4 separate regions of the Homo sapiens genome follow, and all the other regions are linked to region 3. Evidence: promoter capture Hi-C in human tissues and cell types (Jung and others, 2019). All regions are on one chromosome and are shown on one strand. The core of a region is centred on a gene start or on the middle of the fragment in contact, and the rest is flanking DNA. Distances in the headings are between cores, read along the strand shown. Region 1 overlaps DCDC1 (doublecortin domain containing 1). Region 2 overlaps DCDC1 (doublecortin domain containing 1). Region 3 holds the start of PAX6 (paired box 6). Region 4 overlaps DCDC1 (doublecortin domain containing 1).

Region 1 (5,415 bases), core at 617-3,116, 720 kb after region 3:
TCAGTACTTACTAAAACCAATTTTTTTTAGAAATATTTTTCGTAAGTCATCAGTCATCATCATGTTTCTTTTCCACACTGCAAACACATGAGAAATAAAGTATATGCTAAAAAGGAAACAATTCTGAAAATCCTTTAAGATTGAACTCTCTCTTCCTGTTTTAAAAATACATCTTTTTACCTATTAAGAGAGAATTTTACGTGCCATAAATCTCCAGTAGATGTAGACAAATTTCTCTATGGTTGTCACTTATAAAAAATGTTGTGTTGACTCACTAAGTAAGAAAATGGTTAAATGGCCCTTCAAGCAATATTCCCCTTTAATTTCCTTGGCAGAAAATCCTAACATTTAAAATAAAAGCAGTTCACAAACCACCTTAAAATGTTTAACCCATGATATTTAGACCCAGAGTAAAACTTTAAATTGATACAAAGGTTAAGGATTTGTTTCAGTCTTTTCAGTTCACTGCACTATTTTTTTTCTGTGCATACATATTTCCGGTAAGCTCTGTAGTTATAACTACAGCAAGTGACACGTGATGGACCCCAAATTGCTGCACTGTGAAATATGCACAGAAAAAAAAAGACAAATGAAGATATCAAGGTCTGTTTTATTTCGCACTGAACTGTAAAATGCCACCCTTGTTGGACAGAAGATTACTGATTCTGAGCAGGGCTCGCTGACTGCTAAGTTGTGGGTAGTGTTTCACTTTCAGCAACTGTTAATATCCAGGGTTATCCAGGCATAATGACCTCACTATTTGTGACACATTGTTGAATTTTCTGGTTCTTTTAACTTATTTAGACCTTTCTCCCCCTCTCTATTCATTGGAAGACTGGAATGATCCTGAGCCGAGCGATAACTCAGGGCTGCCTGGCTATTGGTCATCCTATCAGAGTCAAGGCTGCTGAGGGAACATCACTAGAAGGATATAAATTAATCTTACAGAAAAGGTAATGCTTATAAATTATTTAGCTCAAGATAATAAATGCTAATTTCAAGAATTCTGAGCAGTTCAATTGTGATGCCTCCTGGTTTGGATTGAATATTCATTCAATGTTTAAATTTGTGTTCATAATAACAATATTAATTTCTGAATCCAAAGTAAGCTTGAAAATGTATGCCACTTAGTTTGGTAGTGTTTTAAAGATATTTAAAAGGTGAAATGTTGGCCTTCAACATGTATCTATGTCGTAGACAAACTGCTGCTTTACTCTATAATTATCAGAACTCATTTCTTTATATCCATTTTGATTGTTAATTAACAAACTTAAATTTTTGTGTATATTCATAACCTTTTTCCATCTTCTGAATACAAAACATTGAACTGTGAAAGAATAATCACAGAGACCAAAAAATGCTGGCTTGTAACGGACTGTAAGTGTCCTTCTTATTTGTTTTTTTCTGATTTAGGAAGATATAATAAAGGAAAGCAGATTGAGGAAGAAAGTTGATTTATCTCCAAGAGTCTCAAAATATTGTTTTCTAGTCACTTTCTTTTTTCTTGGTCTTTTGTTTTGATGTTTGTTTTCACTTAGTGTTGAAAAAAACAATTTCTATCATACCTCAGGACTTAAAAAGCCATTACCAACTACTTCTGGCTATATAGGCACTTAGGATATGCTTAGGCTGCAATCATCAGAGAAGTTGATCCAGCCATAAATACAGAAGGGAAGTTTTCTCTAACTTGCAAAGCAGATATAAGGATATCATGTAATGATTAAGAATGTGATCTACAGACTCAAATTCCCAGGTATAGATCCAGTCTGCACTGCTTACTCTAACAACAAAGTGTCTAAGCCAGATACTATTCTAATGTCCTTAAATCTCATTGTCAAATTTTATCCTTACAACAATCTGATAGGGTAGGTATCATTATTATCTTTACAGGTGAGGATATTGAGGTACAGAGAAGTTAATCACCTGCTCAAGGCCATACCTACTAAGTGGTTTGGCAGGAAGGCAAACCCAAGCAGTCAGGCCCTATAACCTGAAAGTAGACACTTAGCCACAACACTACACTGTCAGTCAGTTAAAGTCCAGTCAGACAATTGCCAGTGAGCGCCAAGTGTGGTAGCAGATACCTTAGTGGATGAGCAGGGTACATCACTTGAAAAAATCAGGCAGATGGGAAAGGAAGATGTTAGCTTGGTGTTATGCAAACTCTCCAGTGCTAATAGAGTCCTAAATACATAGTTCCTAAGTAGTGGCAGACAACCCTAAAGCAAGTCTCAGTTTGGTATGGAACTGTACGCAGACTGGGTAATAAGATTTCTGAAGCAAAATGAGTTCTGTAAACTAGACTCACATTGAGCATGAACTTGCAATGCCAATGCCAATGCCAATGCGAAACTATGGAACAGGGAGCCAGAGATGCTTCAGCTCATTTAGTCCACAGTTATACTAAAGAGAAAAATCAATCAATTGTAACTGACCCAAAAATGACACAGATGATAGAATTACTGGATGGGACATTAAAGCAGCTGTTTTAACTGTATTCTGTATATTCAAGAAGCTAGAGGAAAGATTGAACATGTTAACTAAATACATGGAAGATATAAAAGAACTCAAATTTCAAGAGATTAAAACTACAATATATGAGACAAAGTATACTAAACATGTCTAATGCCAGATTAGACAATGTGGAAGAAAATAGCAGTGAACTTGAGAAGATAACAAAACTATTCACAAGGAAAACCGGAGAGAAAACAAATACTTCAAAAAAAAAAAAAAGAACGGAGCATCAGTGAGATGTGAGAAAATTTCATATGGCCCAATTTCTGAGTATTTATAGTCTCTGACAGGTTAAAGCAAGGAAAAGAAAAATATTGGAGGAAATAGTGTCTGAACAATTTCTATGTGCAAAATTGAGAGCTATAACCCACTGATCCAAGGAACTCAACAAATTCCAAGCACAAGAAGCATGAAGAGACAAAACCAAGGCACATTATCATAGAATTGTTTAAAATTAGTGATAAAGAGAAAATCTTAAAAGCAGAGAGAACAGGCGTATTATGTACAAGAGGAGCTAAAATAAGGCTGACAGCAGATTTCTTGTTGGTAACAATGGAAGTAAGAAGACAGTGGAAAAACATCTTTAAAATACTAAAAGAGGAGGTGGGGAGGAACCCGTTAATATAGAAAACTTTCCCCAGTGAAAATGTCTTTCAAAAATTAAGGCAATATAAAGACCTTAAGATATTCACAAACTGAAGAACTCATCACCAGCAGATCTTCATGACAAGCAATGTTAGAGGAAGTCCTTCAGACAGAAGTAAAATGATACCAGATGGAAATATAGAGCACTGGCAATGGTGACTATATAGGTAATATAACAATGCTACTAGGCCTGGCATGGTGGCTCATGCCCGTAATTCCAGCATTTTGGGATACTGAGGTGGGCAGATCACTTGAGCCCAGGAATTTGAGACCAGCATGGGTGACATGTGGAATTCCATCTCTACAAAAAATAGAAAAATTAGTCAGGTTCAGTGAAGGTCTACACCTGTAGTTCCAGCTCCTTGGGAGGCTGAGGCAGGAGGTCGAGGCTATAGTGAGCCATGATTGCACCACTACACTCCAACCTGAGTGACAGAGCAAGCCTGTGTGTCAAAAACAAAACACCCCCAAAACCCCACAGTGCTAATTATTTTTGTCTCTTTAAAAAATAATTGATTGTTTAAAGCAATAGTGATAATAATAATATATTGTGGAGATAATATGTAGAAATAAAATGTGTGATGGAAATAACACAAATGCCACTAGGAGAGAAATGGAAGAAAGATTTTTTTATACCATTTGTGAAATGATGTGATATCAAATGAAAGTAGATTATGATAAGTTAAAAATATATAATCACCAAAGCAATCATTAAAATAGTAGAGAGTTATAGCTAACAAGCCAAAAAAGTAAATAAAATGAAATATTAAAAATAATTAATCCAAATCAAGACAAAGAGGAAAAGGGGAACAAAGAACAGAAATAGAAAATAAATAACAAGATGGTAGGCTTAAAGCCACGTGTATCAATAATTGCATTAAATATAAATAATGTAAACACCCCATTTAATAATCAGACATTATTAGATTAGATAAAAAACAACATCCATCTATATGCTACCTATAAGAAATTAACTTTAAATATAAAGAAACAAATATGTTGAAAGTAAATTCATGAAAAATATATACAATGATAAAATTAATACAAAGAAAGTAAGAATGGATATATTAATATCAGATAAAGTAGACGTCAGTAAAAAGAATATTACTAGGGATAAATAGGGCCATTTGATGATTAAGGGGTTAATTTATCACGAGAACATAACGATTCTAATTTTTTAAAAATGGCACAGCTTCAAAATACCTGAAGTGAAAGCTGATAGAATTGCCAGGAAAAAGAGAAACATCTAAAACTCTAGTGAGCAACAATAATACCCTGTTTCATAATTAACAGAACAAGTGAAAAAATCTGTAAGGATATAGATGACTAGAATAACATTACAGACCAACTTTACCTAATTGATATTTATAGAAAAATGCATTCAATAACAGCAGAAGATGCATTTTTTAAAGTACATAGCATGTTAACCAAAATAGTCTATATAATGGCTATGAAACAAGTTTAAATAAGTTTAAGAAAATTCAAGTAATATAGAGTGTGTTCTCTGATGATAATGGAGTTAAACTAAAATATAGTGGCAAGTTTTCTGCAAAACCCCCAGATATTTGAACACATTTATAACAAACCCATGAATCAAAGAAGGCATCAAAATGGAAATTAGCAAGTATTTTGAACTGAATGAAAATGAAAATACAACATATTAAAATTTATGAAACACTGCCGAGGTTTTCAGAGGGAATGTTATATAAATGTCTGTGTAAGAAAAGAAGAAAGATATTAAATCAATGACTTCAGCTTCCACTCTAAGAAACTGTAAGAGCCAATGAAACACAAAGTAAGCAGAAGAAATGGGATAATAAAAGAGTGGAAATCAGTAAAATAGAAAAAAAAGAAAACCAATGAAATTAAAAGCTGGATTTTTTTGAAAAGATTAAAAAAAACTAATAAATCTCTAGTCAGATTGTTCAGATAAAAAGAGAGGACACAAATTACCTGTATCAGCAATGAGAGATATCACGCAGTTATTAAAGGGATGATAAGGGAATATTTTGAACAACCATGTGCCAGTAAATTTGTCATTTAGGTGGTAAAGACCAATTCCCTTAAAAGACACAAATCACCAATGCCTACTCAAGAAAAAATGGGAAACCTGAATAGTCCTACATCTCTTAAAGAAATGGAAAACCTTCCTACAAAGAAAACTCCAGACCCAGATTACTTCACTAGCTTCACTGGGAAATTCTGCAAACATTTTAGGAAAAATAATACCAATTCTACACAATCTTATCCAGAAAA
Region 2 (5,400 bases), core at 535-3,034, 590 kb after region 3:
CTGTTGGAAGTGGGGCCTGGTGGAAGGTGATTAGATCATGGGGGTAAATCCCTCCTGAATGGTTTAGCACCATCCCCTTGCTCAGTTGGTTCACGTGAGACCTGGTTGTTTAAAAAAGCCTGGAACTTCCCCCTTCTCTCTTGCTCCTCCTCTTACCATTTGATGTGTTGACTCTTCCTTCACTTTCTACCATGATTATGAGCTTCCAAAGGCCCTCACCAGAGGCAGATGCTGGAGCCATGCTTGTACAGTCTACAGAACTGTGAGCCAATAAAACCTCTTTTCTTTATATACTATCCAACCTCTGTCATTCCTTTATAGCAATGCAAAAATGGCCTAACACAGCTACCATAAGCTTATTAGCTATATCTTTTTGGCTTGCTTTGTATGCATGAGTGTATGTGTAGTTGCTCTAGGATGTTTTGTTTATATATTTAGCTTTTTATACTCCATCTTTGAATAATACTTATTCATTATAATGTAAGAAACATATGTTTTTATTTATCCTTCCTATTCTTTGTGCCACTGTTGTCGTCTATTTTATTTTTATCTGTTATTTTCCCCAGAAAATCTTGTATTCCTATATAAACAGAAAATTTTAAAAGAGATTTAAAAATGAGAAAAAATGTCTTTTTCTTCACCCACATACTTATGGGTTTTGATAGTCTTTATTCCTTAATAAATCCAAGCGTCCTCTTAGGTTGTCTTCCTTTTGCCTGAAGAACTTCTTTTAATGTCTTTTGTTAAAACTTTCTTTTTTTTTTTTTTTTAGAGATGAGATCTTGCTTTTTTGAGATCTTCCTTCCTTCTCATTGAGTTTGGAATAAGTCAGTAGATTTTCTTCCCCAGACTTTAAAGATGTTGTTCTATTCATCACAAGTTTCTGATGTAACATTGGATAGTATTCTTACCTTAGTACATCTTTATGTAATGACTTTTTCTTTTATTGCTTTTAAGAATTTATATTGATCACTTTTTTTTTTGGCAGTTTGATCATGAAGTGTCTTTTGTGTTTTTATTCGGGGGTTTACCTTCTTACAGTTTGTTGAATTTTTTGGATATGTGTGGCTCTAATTTTTGTTATATTTTTGGCCTTTATGTCTTAAAATACTTTTTCTATTCCTAACCCTCTTTCTTATTTTTCTGGACTCTAGTTACACAATATTAGTTTGCCATTTATTTTATTTTATTTTTTTTCCAGTCCTTTTTTCTGGGTACTTTATTTTGGTTTGTTTCTGTGATAGCCACCAGGCTGAACTAGGACATGAGTCACCTTCAGTTCTGCAAGAAGCCATTAGAGAAGAAAGCTGCAGATACAGCAGCTTGCCTGGAATTAAGTCATTATAGTTTCAAAATTCCAAATATAAGAGAAAATTATATTCCAAATACAAATACTATCTTTCCTCTTACATTCCTCAGCGTGGTTCCTTAAGTATTACATCATCAAGATTCTCCTATCAGTTCATATTTATTTCTCTTCATTCCTTAATACTAGAATCTGTTCTTAAGTCAAGCTAATATTATCACTGTTCAATAACCATACCATACTCCTTCCTAGCTCTGTGTTTCCTGTTCTCCTATATGGAATAGGAATGTACTTCTTTGTTTTCCTTATTTCAAAATAATGAAATACTCCAGACACGAAAGATTGGGTAAACATTTCTGTAAGCCAAATCCAACTCGATCAAATCCTTTCTTCAGATTTTTTTTTCAGGAAATAAAGCATATCTATATCTATATGTATCTAGGTAGATATAGATATATATCTACCTAGATATATATATATAATTTTTCTTCCCTGTGCTTCCTCTCTAGAGGTAACCATTATCTGAATCTCCAGTCATATTTTATATTATATATATTACATATATGTATATGTACATATTAGCATGTATGCATATGTATATATAACACATATTTACATATTTATATGTATATATTGTTATTCTTTTATTTTATTTTAATAGTTTTTTGGGGAAAAGGTAGCTTTTGGTTACATGGATAAGTTCTTGAGTGGTGATTTCTGAGATTTTGATGCACCTGTCACCTGAGCAGTTTATGCTGTACCCAATATGTAGTCTTTTAACCTTCACTCCCCCCCAACTTTCCCCCATGTCCCCAAAGTCCATTATATCATTGTTATGCCTTTGCCTCCTCATAGCTTAGCTCCCACTTATAAGTGGGAATGTAAAATATTTAGTTTTCTGGATATTGTATGTTCCTGAGTTACTTCACTTAGAATAATGACCTCCAGCTCCATTCAAGTTGCTGCAAAGGCCATTATTTCATTCCATTTTATGGCTGAGTAGTATTCCATGATGTATATATGCCACATTTTCTTTAGCCACTTGTTGATTGATGGGCATTTAGGCTTGTTCCATATTTTTGCAATTGTGACTTGTGCTGCTATAAGCATGCATGTGCATGTGTCTTTTTCACGTAGTGACTTCTTTTCCTTTTTGGTAGATTCCTAGTAGTGGGATTGCTGGATAAAATGGTAGTTTTATACTTTCAGTTCTTTAAGAAATCTCCATACTGTTTTCCATAGTCATTGTACTAGTTTACATTACCACCAGCAGAGTGGTACATCTCTTTTTGCCACATCCATGCTAACATCTATTATTTTTTGATTTTTAAATTATGGCCATTCTTGCAGGAGTAAGGTGGTGTCTCATTGTGGTTCTAATTTGCATTTCCCTGATAATTACTGATGTTGAGCATTTTCTTCATATGTTTGCTGGCTGTTTGTATATCTTCCTTTGAGAATTGTCTATTTATGTCCTTTTCCCACCCTTTGATGGGATTATTTGTGTTTTTCTTGCTGATTTGTTTGAGTTCCATGTAGATTCTGGATATTAGTTTTTTGTCTGCTGCATAGTTTGCAAATATTTTCTCCTACTCTGTGGGTTGTCTGTTTACTCTGCTGATAGTTTCTTTTGCTGTGTAGAAGCTTTTTAGTTTAATTAGATCCTATTTATTTATTTATTTTTGCATTTGCTTTTGGGTTCTTAGTCATGAATTCTTTGCCCATATCAATGTCTAGAAGAGTTTTTCTGATGTTATCTTCTAGAATTTTTATGGTTTCAGGTCATAGATTTTGATCGTTGATCCATCTTGAGTTGAGTTTTGTATAAGGTGGGAGATGTGGACCCAGTTTTACTCTTCTACATGTGGCTTGCTAGTTATCCCAGCACCATTTATTGACCAGGATGTCCTTATATATATATGTATATGTATATATTTACATATATGTTGTATTAGTCTGTTTTTGTGCTGCTGATAAAGACATACCTGAGACTGGGAAGAAAAAGAGTTTTAATTGAACTTACAGTTTCACATGTCTGGGGAGGCCTCAGAATCATGAAGGAAGGCTAAAGGCACTTCTTACATGGTGGCAGCAAGAGACAATGAGGAAGAAGCAAAAGCAGAAACCCCTGATAAACCCATCAGATCTCATGAGACTTATTCACTATCATGAGACTAGCATGGGAAAGACCGGCCCCCATGATTCAATGACCTCCCCCTACCCTAGGTCCTTCCCACAACATGTGGGATTGTATCTTGGAGATACAATTCAAGTTGAGATTTGGTGGGGACACAGCCAAACCAATCATATGTATATATGCATATGTGTATATTAAAGCATATACGTTCATATTTATATGTATATATTACATATATATGTGTTTTGCCTTTTTTGTACTTTATATAAATGATATACTATACATGTCACTCTGCACTTGCAACATTATATTTATGAGACATATTTATGCTGAAATATAAAGATGTTATGCATTGACTTTTAACTTCCACACAGTAATTTATTCATTTTATTGTATGAACATACTACAGTCTACTTATTACTTGTTGACAGACATTTAGTGTCTTTCCAAATTTTACTGTAACAAACAATGCTCCTACAAATATTTGTGTACTTTATGTAAAACTCACGTGCATGTATTAAAATTTCTCCAGGGTATATATCTAGAAGTAAAATTAGTATGAAAAAAGTATGCAGTATGCATATCATTGTGGGCTATTGTCTGTTTACATTATATGGCTATTGTATTAGTTAACACTTTCACCAGCAATTTATAAGATTCTCATTTCTCCTCATTTTCCCACATATGCATACATACATAAATACATACATACATACCCTTTGTGACTTATTTATCAAATAATAGTTAATGATATGTCTGAGCAATGCTAAAGAGATCAACTATGGATATGTGCTATTGTACATAATAACCATTCTCCTATTGTAATATAATTACATCATTGTTTTCTTTTCCTGAAATCAATTTCTTTGCAATTATTTATTCAGGATAATGTTCAAATTGAAAATTATTGAGTCTAAGTTGGTGACTGTATTAAACTCTTGGTAAGTCTTTCAAAATGATTGTACCAATGTAACTATTTCAGAATCATGTATAATATTTTAATGTTTGATATTTCAATATATACATAGTTTATTGTTTTTATTAGCACGAATTATATTACTTTCAAGGTTAAACATTATAAATATATCTGTTAATTAACAAAAATCTCTTTGCAATGGGCCAAATATTTATGTCTTCCCGAAATTTATATATTGAAGTCCTATCCCCCTGATGTGACTATATTTGGGAATAGGGCCTTTATAGAGTAGTTAATGTTAAATGAGGTCATAAGGGTAGGGCCCTGATCCAATAGAATTACTAGGCAAGACACCAGAGAGCATACACTCTCTCTCTGCCATATGAGAACACTGCCAGAAGACAGCCATCTTCGAGCCAGAAGAGAGCCCTCAGAGACTCCTCACCAGAACCTGACCATACTAACACCCTGATCTTAAGCTTCCAGCTTCCAGAGCTCTGAGAAAATAAATTTCCCTGTTTAAATCACCCAGCCTATGGTAGCTTGTTATAGCAGCCTGAGCTGACTAAGACAGATTTTGTTACCAAGATATGGAATATTGCTGTAACAAATACCTAGACATGTGGAAGTGGCTTTGGAACTGAGTGATAGGTACAGACTGGAAGAGTTTTGAGGTGATGCTGGAAATATGTATGTTAAGAGTAATTCTGGTGAGGTTTCAGTGGAAATAAGCAAGATGTTATTAGAAACTAGAGGAGGCCAGGCGTGGTGGCTCACTCTGTAATCCTAGCACTTTGGGAGGCTGAGGTGGGTGGATCACCTGAACTCAGGAGTTCTAGATCAGCCTGGGCAACATGGTGAAACTGTGTCTTCACTAAAAATACAAAAAATTAGCTGGACCTGGTGGTGCATGCCTGTAATCCCAGCTACTTAGGAGGCTGAGGCAGGAGAATCACTTGAACCTGGGAGGCAGAGGTTGCAGTGAGCCGACATCACACCACTGCACCCAAGCCTGGGTGACAGAGTGAGACTTTGTTTCAA
Region 3 (5,313 bases), core at 2,814-5,313:
TGAGGTGGCCTTGACTTGCTTGCTTTTCCTTTGAAGCTGAACTCTTGCCTCTTGGGGGCAGAGGTTACAGGGAAAAGAGAGATGGGGGGATCGTCACAGGGTGATGAAATGGAAAGCAAACTTTTCTAGGAACCCTATTTGCAAAAATCGGAGAGTGCCGCTGATTTCAGTTGTCCTACATGTCAGGAGTTTTAAACCTAACTCCTATCTGGACAACAGCATGGAGGGACTGGGAGGCAAAGCCTTGGGAGTCTGACCCGCTGGGCTGCTAGGAATCCCTTTGCTGGGAGACTCCACTGGACAATGTTATTTTAAAGGTATTTTGGGGGTGGGCAGGGAGAAGACAGAGAGAGAAAGAGAGAGAGAGAGAGAGAGAGAGAGAGAGAGAGAGAGACAGGCTGGCCTCCCAGAGCGAACGGAAGAGGACTGAGGACTGAACCCAGGGAGCCCCTAGCACTGGCCATTTGGCAGGAGGCGAGGAAGGGCGAGGGCACCGCGGCTTCCCCCCAAGCCGAGCAGTGGCCACAGCCTGAAGGTGCCACGGGGCGGCTCTGGGATCTTCTTGGCTTTTCTAGGCTCTGGGCTCGGCGAGGCTGCCGGGTTAGCGGGAACCGGCAGGTTGCTGGAGAAAGGAGAGGGACAAAGGCCTGGAAGTGGGGGAGGCACCAGGGACTGGGCGGCCGGGATGGGAGCCTTTGCCTTTAGGGCTCACTGGACCCGTTTGCCAGCTCCGCGGACAAGGGATCCCACCTTCCCAGGGTCTGCAAAAAGAGAGACGTTTGGGGCACTACAAAGTGACGCAGGTGTCTGCCAAGACTTTCCTTCTCCAAAAAATGCCAGTCTTCACCCTTTCCAGCGCGCCGGCGCTGCGCCTCTGCTTGACCGGGGAAAGAGAGAGTTTGGAGGTGTCAGAACTGTCAGAACTCCGGATGGGAGGCTCTTGGTTCTGAAGCTGGGAGCTGGAGGCACTTCCCCCCAGAAGTGGGCACTTCTTTGCCTCCCCGAAGGCCTGATGGGGTGGGCACAGGGGAATGCCAGGGATCGGTGCGGGTGAGATGCTTGCCTCACCTCATGTTGACGCATCAATACTGGCTAGAAGCTCTGGGCAGGCTCTGGCGAGCCACGGTCCCCCAGCGGGACTCCCTCCACGCAGACAGCCCCGCTACCGGGTGGGACGACCCCGGCGGCCCCCGCGGGAACGCACCCGCCGGCCTGAGAGGTCCTCCCTCTGGCCACAGGGGGCGGAGGGTAGGGGGGAACAGGGGCCTGTGGGGAGGCGGGGAAAGGAGACAGAACCTAAAGCGCAATCCCCGCCGCCCCCCCGCGTCTTGGAGGGCAGCAAGTGGGCCTCGGGCGTGTTGGTAGCCGCAATTAAAATGGCGACCTGCGAGTTGTCTCGGTTTTGTACACACCTCTGGCAACCGCGCCCGCACCTCAGTCTCGGCCCCCACACCCCTAGGCCGCTTCGCCCCCAGAGCCGGTACTTGGCAGAGGGAGTGAGGCTCCCCACGAGGTAGAACAGCACCCCCACCTTCCTTGAGACCAGTCCAGAGAGAACGAGGAAATCTCACTCTCACCCCTCTCTCCTTAAACTTTGAAAACTCGGCCTCATTCTGGGGTTGAACTCCCCTCCCCAAATATTGACACATGGGAAGCAGCCAAGTCCTTTTTGTTTTTTGTTTGTGCGGAGGAGTTTCCAGGAGTCTTTCCCGGAGCCCCCTTCCCCACCCAATGACGTCAGTGGCATTCACTCCTCGCTCCTTGCCTTTTCTGATTTTTTGTTAAAACTTTTCTCCGCAGCGAGATGGGGGTTGGAGGGGTGGGAGAAGGAGCTGATTCAAAGAGCCAGTGCCCTGGGGGGAAATAGCAACAAGATTACGGCTGCTTCTTTCCGAGGCAAAGCTTAAGAAGGTGCTAATCCACTCGGTCGCTAATTGAGAGGTTGTAAAAATGATACTCGCCTCCAGTTCGGACAGAATCACTTCCCCCCCCCCCGCCCCCCCGCAAGTCCCTCGCTCATGCACAGCGGACTTGAGTCTTGAGTCCAAGCTTCTTTAATGCTCGCTTGGAAAGTAAAAGGAGAGAGAAAGAGAAAGCCGACTTTCGCTGGTCTGGGACTCAGGGCCGCGGCCCCACTTGCCGGCATCCTCCGAAAGTCGCGCTCCTGCGAAATGAAACCTCGCCCAGGAGGCCGCGGACCTGGACACCCGGCGCCACCTCCTTCACCTCTGACCCAGGTTTCCTCCCGGCGCTGCGAGCTCCCGGGGAAGGGTTAGAGCCGGCAGCCCTCCCCAGCCCGGGGAGGGGAGAGGGTTATGCGACCCCACCTCTGGCTAGGGCCGGGGAGGCCTTTGCTTCCCGGGAGCCCTGCCCGGGCTCCTTGGTCGCAGGGCTGCTGGGTCCCAGGCAGGAACGAGAGGGTGAGGCCCACATGTGGCCCGGCGGCCCAGGGCGGCTTGCAGCGTCCTCACTGTCCCGGCTGCCAGGGGCTGCGGCGACGCGGCCAGTCAGCAGCGAGTTCAGGTCGCGCAGATTTTATTGATGAGCTCTGACTTTCAGCACTTTCCCTAAGTCAAGAAGAGTCTAGCGTACCCTTCGGCTGCTTCATTTCAGCCTCCCTGCCTCAGCTCTTCAGCCCTATTCCCCCTCGCCCTGTCCTGGGGTGTGTACAGCAGCCCAGGCCTTCCTTCTCCTTCCCGGCTCCGTGGCCCGAAGCCGCCGAGAGAGCTCGGGACAGCGCAGGACCAGGCAGCCGCTCGCTCTCCTGTCACCTTAACTGCAGGCTCCGAGGGGCGCCTTTGGAGTGTACTGAGGTGTGTCCTAATCGTGCGGCATTCAACAAATGGACTTCTGGTGTGTGGTCAGAAGAGAAAAGCCATTTACTTACTTTCCTCCCCGGTTTTCTGGCAACAGCTGAAGGGGAGCTGCCTCCGTGGACTGAGCAGACCCAGGAGAGGGAGTCGTGGTGCGGAGACACACGCACCACACACAGATGACCGGTGGCACACACGACACACGCTGACATACCGACATCGCCAGTGGGACACACACACACACACACACACACACACACACACACACAGAGAGAGAGAGAGAATCCCTCCCAGCATTGGTCATCCGCCCCCCCACCCAGGCTTCCACTCCCCCTCCCCTCTTATCTCCCCTGGCTTCCCCTCCTCTCGGGCGCTGCGAAAAGCAGCCGCACTTAGTCAACAAATGGCACGTGGGAGAAGTTGGTGAGTGTTTGGTGAGGACTCTTCAGGGCTTTTCACAAGAACCCTCTGTACACAAAGTAAGTGGCGTGTTTACTCGGGCCTCTCCAGCCAGAGCTGTGCCTCTGCTCCGCTGCGCACCGCGGCTTCCGAAAGGAGAAAGGAGAGAAGAAAGGGCGGGGAGAGCGGGGTGGAGGATTTGGACAGGCCCTGGAGGCTTGGGCTGGGGAGGCCTCTGGCCTCGTTTAGTTCTCGGCCCGGCAACCTCCTCTCGGCCTAGGCTTCGCCGCGGCCTCCGCAGCTGGAATGGAGCTGCCAGGACCCAGTGACGCTCCCGCCCCTTTCCTCTTCTTCCAAGGGGCCAGGTGGGCTGGGGTGCGGCCGCCGCTGTGCTCTGTGTCTTGGGGCCCCGGCTGGGATGGGGTGGGGGCGGGCGGGGGCGGGGCGGCAGGCCACGCTGTCCTGGAGTTGGCAAGAAAGGACAGCACAGAAACTTGCACCCTCCGAGGACTGGGAGTCCCGAGTCCAGCTTAGGGGGAGTGGGGGCGCGACCCCCAACCCAGAAACCTTCACTTGACCGCTCAAGTTCGCGGCAGCAGGGCGGGCCGCGCCGAATCTCGGCGTGCGCGGAGCGGGGAGATGCAGGCGAGCGCCAGAGCCCGGGCTCGGGGGCCCTGCGCCGGGGAGAGGAGCCGGGACCCACCGGCGGAGCCGAAAACAAGTGTATTCATATTCAAACAAACGGACCAATTGCACCAGGCGGGGAGAGGGAGCATCCAATCGGCTGGCGCGAGGCCCCGGCGCTGCTTTGCATAAAGCAATATTTTGTGTGAGAGCGAGCGGTGCATTTGCATGTTGCGGAGTGATTAGTGGGTTTGAAAAGGGAACCGTGGCTCGGCCTCATTTCCCGCTCTGGTTCAGGCGCAGGAGGAAGTGTTTTGCTGGAGGATGATGACAGAGGTCAGGCTTCGCTAATGGGCCAGTGAGGAGCGGTGGAGGCGAGGCCGGGCGCCGGCACACACACATTAACACACTTGAGCCATCACCAATCAGCATAGGTGTGCTGGCTGCAGCCACTTCCCTCACCCACACTCTTTATCTCTCACTCTCCAGCCGCTGACAGCCCATTTTATTGTCAATCTCTGTCTCCTTCCCAGGAATCTGAGAATTGCTCTCACACACCAACCCAGCAACATCCGTGGAGAAAACTCTCACCAGCAACTCCTTTAAAACACCGTCATTTCAAACCATTGTGGTCTTCAAGCAACAACAGCAGCACAAAAAACCCCAACCAAACAAAACTCTTGACAGAAGCTGTGACAACCAGAAAGGATGCCTCATAAAGGTGAGTCCGCTTCTTTCTTCTCGCTTTATTTTTATTGCAATATTCAGACAGGTCTCCCCCTTCCTCCCCCCTTCCTTCCTCCCCTCTCGCCGGTCCCCTCCCCCACTGCTACGCCGGGAGAGTTGGGCCGGAGAAGTTTCCACGCAGGAGCCCAAACTTTCTACTTCCAGCGAAAGCCCGCGTCGGAGGGCGACTGCCGGCGAGCGGGAGCGGCGCAGGGCTCGGGGCGGGCGGCCAGCTCAGCCCCAGCGCCAGCGCCAGCGCCAGCGCGGGCTGAGCTCGCGGGAAGAAGGGAGACTCCAGGCGCGACAGCAGCCGCGGCTCCTAGCCCCAGCGTCGCCCAATGCTCCCGACCCGCGGGAAAAGACGAAGAGGCTCTGTGGTGCCCAAGGCCCTGGAACGGCCGCAGAGAGCAACCGCTGCCGGCTGCTTTGTCCAGCCCGAGGCCCAGCGAACGCGCAGAGAGCGGGCGCTCCGAGGACTCGCCGAGGGAGCGCCGAGGGAACCTGCTCGCCGCGTCTCCGCCCGCCCGCCGGCCCTCGGGCTTTGTGCCGCACTGGGCTCCGGCGCAGAAGAGTCAGCCGGCACTCGAGCGCCGAGGGGGGCACCGCGCCCGCCACCAGCCCGAGTGGAGTCAGTCGGCAAGGCAGCCGCACGCTGGAGGTAGAGGGAAGAGCGAGCTAGCGCGAGCCGGGAAGGAAGCCACCAGGCCAAGGCGGTGGAACGCGCGCTCCGAGGGAGCTCAGAGCCGAGCGG
Region 4 (5,528 bases), core at 1,999-4,498, 700 kb after region 3:
CCATATGATGGAAAGAGTGAGTTTACTGACAGTTTACTTATGACTTTAAGTGTCTTGCAAGTTACTTGCAACTAATTTAGACAATTACATCTTAAAGTTGTTTGCAGAAGATCAATGGTTTGTTGATCTGTAAAGACTGATATCACAAAGATTTACTTCTGAATTTCTTAGGCTTTCAGCGTTAGTATAGTGTTAACTCCTGAACTCCATACCTAATGGTTTCTTAACCTTCTTCATGCTTATATTTGGAATCTGTCTATGCTTGGCCCTGGTTTTGATACATCAGGATTTCCCTCTTGTTTACAGTAAAAAAAAGTGATATATTCAGTGGAGGGTATGCCCTGGATCTAGGGTATTTCTAAACCCTAGATTCTGAGTAATTAACATGCAGCCTTGGTCTTCTCCCTGCTCATTGTGAGCAAGTTCAGCTAGTTTTGCTTACATCTTAGGCACTCTTACCTTTTTCTGTTTTCCAGACAATTGGGATGTTTCTCAGGCAGAACCAACATGCTCAGGCTCTTTATTTTGGGTCTTTGTCTTGCATAAAAGGACACTGAACAGCCTGTTGTTTACAAATTGGGGTTATGCACCCGAGCGCACAGCAGTGTTTTGGGCTCTCTTGCCTTGCCTTTGTTCAGTAACTTGCTCCCTTTTTCTCCCTTCAGTTCAGCACCCTCAGACTTACCTCTCCTGGTGGTATCCATTACCTGGCTTTTACAGCCAATCGAAAAAGTTGTATATGAATTGGGATGCTCTCATTGGATCATTAGCTGGACCTGGAAGAGAGGAAGAAAAGCTACTTTGATTAGAGAGAGAAGGATCCAGAGCCTTGGCTGGTTTCTTTTTACCATAACATAACTGATTACACAAATCACCATGACACAAAGGCCTTCATAGGATTTTTCACCTGTCTCCCCGGCTTTTTACATTAGAATATTTTACCAGCCTGAGCAACATGGCAAAATCCTGTCTCTACAAAAAATAAAAAAAATTAGCCTGGCATGGTGGCATGTGCCTGTAGTCCCAGTTACTCGGGGGCTGAGGTGGGGGGATCACTTGAGCCTGGGATGCTGAGGTTGCATTTAGCTGAGATCACACCACTGCACTCCAGCCTGGGTGACAGAGTGAGACCCTGTCTCAAAAAAAAAAAAAAAAATGAAGATATTATTCTATAGAAACTTTTTGTGTTGACTTATAGCACACTGAAATTGAGCTGTGCTGTGCTTCTGTATGCAATAAATCTGGGGCAAAAACATTAATTAGGGGCATTATAAAGTTCTTTGGGAGAGCCCTTGTGACACCACCCAAGGACAACTGCTCCCTTGTGTGGACACGTGTTTCAATCACTAGCCTAAGATGTTTCACACTCTTTTCAGGTTCTTGAACAAATTCTTATGCTATAAAGGCCTGGTGATGATAGCTTTAAAGATAAATGGGTGAAGATTATCACAATTTTTGGTTGCCACAGCAAAGCCCTAACCAATGACCTAAAGATGAAGGGCACAGAGGCCCTTACCTCCTGAAGACTGTTGAATGCTCATCTTTGAACACCTAAAATGCAGTCTGTCACCAACTTGAGAAAATAGAGATTGCAATGCAACTCCTGTGAAAGTGAATTTGGTTAAGTGGTCAGATGCTCACATCACATGTCTACCTCGCATCCCTCTTCTTTGTACACACATTTCCTTCCTGGATCAGGCCTTAAATCTTTGGTATCATTCCTTTTTATAAAAAGGTGATGCCTGTAAAGCAAAATCTCTGTGATTTAAAAAATGATCAGCATAACATGTTTTCTGAAATAATAGCAAAGCAACAAAAATAAGCTCAAGAGCTGAAACCACACAAAAATAAATGTAGGGCTTTAGAAATACAATCTATAGATTTCAAAATATGTTTGCCATTTCCATGGAAAAATAACCAAGGCAATATAGATTTTTACTATTCTAACACCTTTGCCTCTTATACACCTAAAGAGGAGAGTAATGATCATTTTTAATTCAAAGGAATTGGCTATGCTGGATGGGAAGTATTAATGCCTTTCCAATGCTCAAGACTAAAAATCTTCAGCTAATGAAAACACTAAGTTGGAGATACTATTACGTATCTCTAAGTAGGACAAAGCCTAATACTTAGATCCTATACATGCAGTTTCTGGTCAAAAGAAATATTTGCTCAGTCAAGAGTTTACAGCCAATCGTGAGACACCTGAGATGCATGGAAGACCTGTGACTTTCCCTTCTTTCCTCTAAGCCTCAGCATTTAGCACTTCTCAATATACCCTCAATGGGGATTAATAGAGGAGCAAAAAAGAAAAGAAAAGAAAGGACCCTGAACTGCAGTTAGGCCAGAAAAGACCACAGCTATATCTACATCCCTGCAGGGATTACAGGATAACAAGAAACCGAGAGACACAAGAACTGACAAGGGAGAGATGAAAAGGAACCCCGTGACAGAAGGCTGGGGGAAGAGTGATGGATAGGGTGGAGTGCAGAGCAAGGAAGAGCAAAGGCTGAAACACTTAAACAAAGGTGACAGAGGATAATGAAAAATGTCTTTTCAAATACCATATGCAGCACAGTTCTGTTAGATTTACTTTATATTTGAAATATGCCCTAAATTAGAAATATCTTGATAATTTAGAGACTCTAAATGCAAGATAGAAGCAAACACTGATAATGCTATTATCTTAAATATTAAATGACAGCTTTTCATACTTCACACTTCCATGATGTCTTTCTTACAACTTAAAAACATTCATTATTGAAGATGTCCACAAGCTATTTCAGGGTTCATAATTAAAATGCTTCTAGGGAGAGATCTTTGTAAGTGAACCAACTTAGGCTAAAAGTCATTTTAATTTTGGCAGTTGTCCTACTACTGGTTACCTGAGATTTGCTGGGGACAGGGAGATTGGTGATTGTGAAACTTGAACGTGGTCTGGAAGGCCCCTAACAAAATGTGTAGCTCAGACAAGAAAAGCGTAACCCTTATCAAAGAGGACCGTTACCATGTGTAGAAGCTAAATGCTCTTTCTGTAAGACTGTCACATCTGCTTTCAGTCCCCGTGCCAAAGGGTCAGAGCTCAATCACAAGCCTGTGGCCCCCCCTGCTGGTTAAAAGCCCATGCTCATTTTGTTACTTTACACTGAGCTAAACATTGCCGTCATTTCACACTTCTTTTAACATTCTATATGAATTTAATTATCATTTGTTTGGACTTCATTTGTTACAGAGTAGAGACAGTTTATTACAGATGTTCCCATTTTAGGTTATTTATTCTCCTCTATCCCCTCTGCCCCTCTAACCCCCAACCAGTTACTTCTCAAGATTCATCAAAGGCTTCAAGGTTCTTCCATCAACCCACCAGGCCTCAATTATTCTTCAATGCGGCTTTTTGATGAGAATGGCCAAGAAATTAAGAATCCACTTTCGCTGAAGAATGAGCAAAAAATTTGGGTCTCTTATGGTAGAGCATACAGGTAGGAGCAAGGGGTTTGTTTTCTGTCCTCAATCTTTCCAGGGGAGAGCTAATTTGAAAGCGGATTTGAGAAGTCAAGTAGCACCCTTCATGAAACATTTTTTATTTTGAATTCCAATAAAATTTTAGAGGTGTTTTTGCAAGGCAGTATTGTTGGTGGAATATGACATCTCCTTCTCTCTCTCTATCTCTGTCTGTGACTTTCTGTCTTAATGCCTTGTCATAGTTCTTGAAGTCTGCCTGTCAGCACAGCAAGAGGGATTTGTTCATGTCTGAGTAGTCACCTTAATGATAGCAGATGGAAACGCCACGGGGGGCCCAAGCCCATCACACTGTCATTGTCGCACACTGCCCTGACCTGCTTCCACTCCTCTATTTTTTTTGTCCCTTTTTAAAGGAGAAATGGATGGTAATTGAAAAGGATCTTAAGCAAGATTTATGAAGCTGTAGACAACATGATTCCCCACTATCTCTCTATGTTTTCACAAATAAAGTCTTAACCTTTTAAGCACCAATGACAGGACAGCTAAAGATAAATTGGTAAAGCTTGTAAGCCCTATCCTATCAAAGTTATATTCCTCAAAAGCACCTTACATTATCCCACAATAATTACTGGTTATTGCTGAGCATTGTGTAAATTTTTGTAGATTGGTAAATTCCTGCATAAAATTATCTGTGTTTCTGAAGAAAGAAAAAGGCTGCAGTATATAGGCACTGATGAGCTGGGCTGTTGTTTTCAATATCTAGGAAATTTATGCATATTTTGACAGAACACATCCAGATGAACTCTGAAACTGCTTGTCAGGAAACTTAAACACACTTCTCTATTTTTAATTTTTTTAGCTTATTATCTGTAGAACAGAATAAGGGAAAATAATTTTTCATATAGAGTATAACTGATCATATATTAACTATAATGAAAATAGCATAAATAAACCTAAATCTTAGCAAAGCAAGGGCTATTGGATTTGCTATATATTCAAATAGTTAAAATTTCGAATACTGAAACAAATGTACTCAGAAATCCATCAAGGTTTTGGAAGATGTTGCTAGAATAAGTTGTGGATCACATGTTACAAAATTTTATTTCATCTGTCCCAGATGAAATATTAAAATGCTTGATGATTTCTTAGGCTGTGTAATTTAGAGAATTAAAAAATCTCTAAGGAATGGTAAGTTTTTGTCCATAGATAAATTTCAAAATATAATTTAATTACGTTGTAAGTAGAATTGTTTTTTCAATGATAAAAACTGATGAATTTTAAAGTGGCAAGAATTCTTGAGTAATCTAGTAAGCCCTTCCTATTACAAGGATAGGCTTTAATAAAATGTGTCATTATTATTTCTTTTTAATATTATTGTCAAAGTGAAAGTAATGACTCACTAATTTTGATACGTTTAATGATGTTTGCTATAATACAGCATTTTAATAATATTAAACATTTGTTTTTGGCTAATTGGATCATATTTGCGGAATAACTGGTAAAATGCCAAAAATCTGAGATATTCTAAAAATCAGCTGAGAATTGTAGTCGGAGAAATTTACCAGTGCATATATTTATTTGTATTTCATTGTGATTTTAACAGTTTAATGTATTTTTTTGGTTTCCAGTCCAACATAAAGCACCAGGAAACCATTACAGCATTTTGCTACCATAGGAATGTTTAAAATGTATATGTCTAAAAAGTTATTGCCGTCTAGTTTGAAATATGTTGAGAAAATGTGCAATACGTGTTAAGTAAATCGTTTTCATTTTCAGTAAGTAATTCTACTGAGTCTAATTTATGTTGATTTGAAGGGGTCAAGCTACTCATTTGTAAAAGATGATTTTTGCCGATGTCCGCTTCTATTTTGAATATTTTATTTTTCCTTCAATTTTTTATTTTGAAAAAATTTAAATCTAAGGAAATTTGAAAAAATAGTACAATGAGCTCCTGTATATCTTTCACCTAGATTCACCAATTTAAAGAGTTTGCCACATTTGTTTTACCTGTTATATATCTCCCATCTCTCTCTCCCTCTTGAACGGCTTGAAAGCAATTCCAGACA

The links. Contacts are between HindIII fragments. The study calls those that stand out against the background at their distance.
Region 1: a contact is called between a fragment that was not itself captured here and the fragment with the promoter of PAX6 in region 3, in 1 of the 25 tissues and cell types used here (lymphoblastoid cells).
Region 2: a contact is called between a fragment that was not itself captured here and the fragment with the promoter of PAX6 in region 3, in 1 of the 25 tissues and cell types used here (heart left ventricle).
Region 4: a contact is called between a fragment that was not itself captured here and the fragment with the promoter of PAX6 in region 3, in 2 of the 25 tissues and cell types used here (mesendoderm cells and thymus).

Annotation. Positions count from the first base shown.
Region 1 is chr11:31,086,931-31,092,345 of GRCh38, reverse strand. DCDC1 (doublecortin domain containing 1) reads left to right here. Exons shown (of 39, transcript NM_001387274.1): 17 at 835-953. Among named protein-coding and RNA genes, the nearest start is that of DCDC1, 280 kb to the left of the region's middle. The HindIII fragment of the contact is 4,949 bases long and covers 1-4,340 here.
Region 2 is chr11:31,222,079-31,227,478 of GRCh38, reverse strand. The region is part of intron 9 of DCDC1 (doublecortin domain containing 1); the gene reads left to right. Among named protein-coding and RNA genes, the nearest start is that of DCDC1, 140 kb to the left of the region's middle. The HindIII fragment of the contact is 4,220 bases long and covers 1-3,894 here.
Region 3 is chr11:31,810,072-31,815,384 of GRCh38, reverse strand. It overlaps PAX6 (paired box 6), which reads left to right and starts at 4,063. Exons shown (of 14, transcript NM_001368894.2): 1 at 4,063-4,270; 2 at 4,370-4,557. RefSeq lists a silencer at 754-1,008, enhancers at 1,852-2,820, 4,168-4,225, 3,928-4,497 and a promoter at 3,871-4,280. The HindIII fragment of the contact is 12,830 bases long and covers 1-5,313 here.
Region 4 is chr11:31,104,748-31,110,275 of GRCh38, reverse strand. It overlaps DCDC1 (doublecortin domain containing 1), which reads left to right. Exons shown (of 39, transcript NM_001387274.1): 12 at 1-16; 13 at 3,316-3,479. Among named protein-coding and RNA genes, the nearest start is that of DCDC1, 260 kb to the left of the region's middle. RefSeq lists a silencer at 3,007-3,186. The HindIII fragment of the contact is 6,555 bases long and covers 1-5,528 here.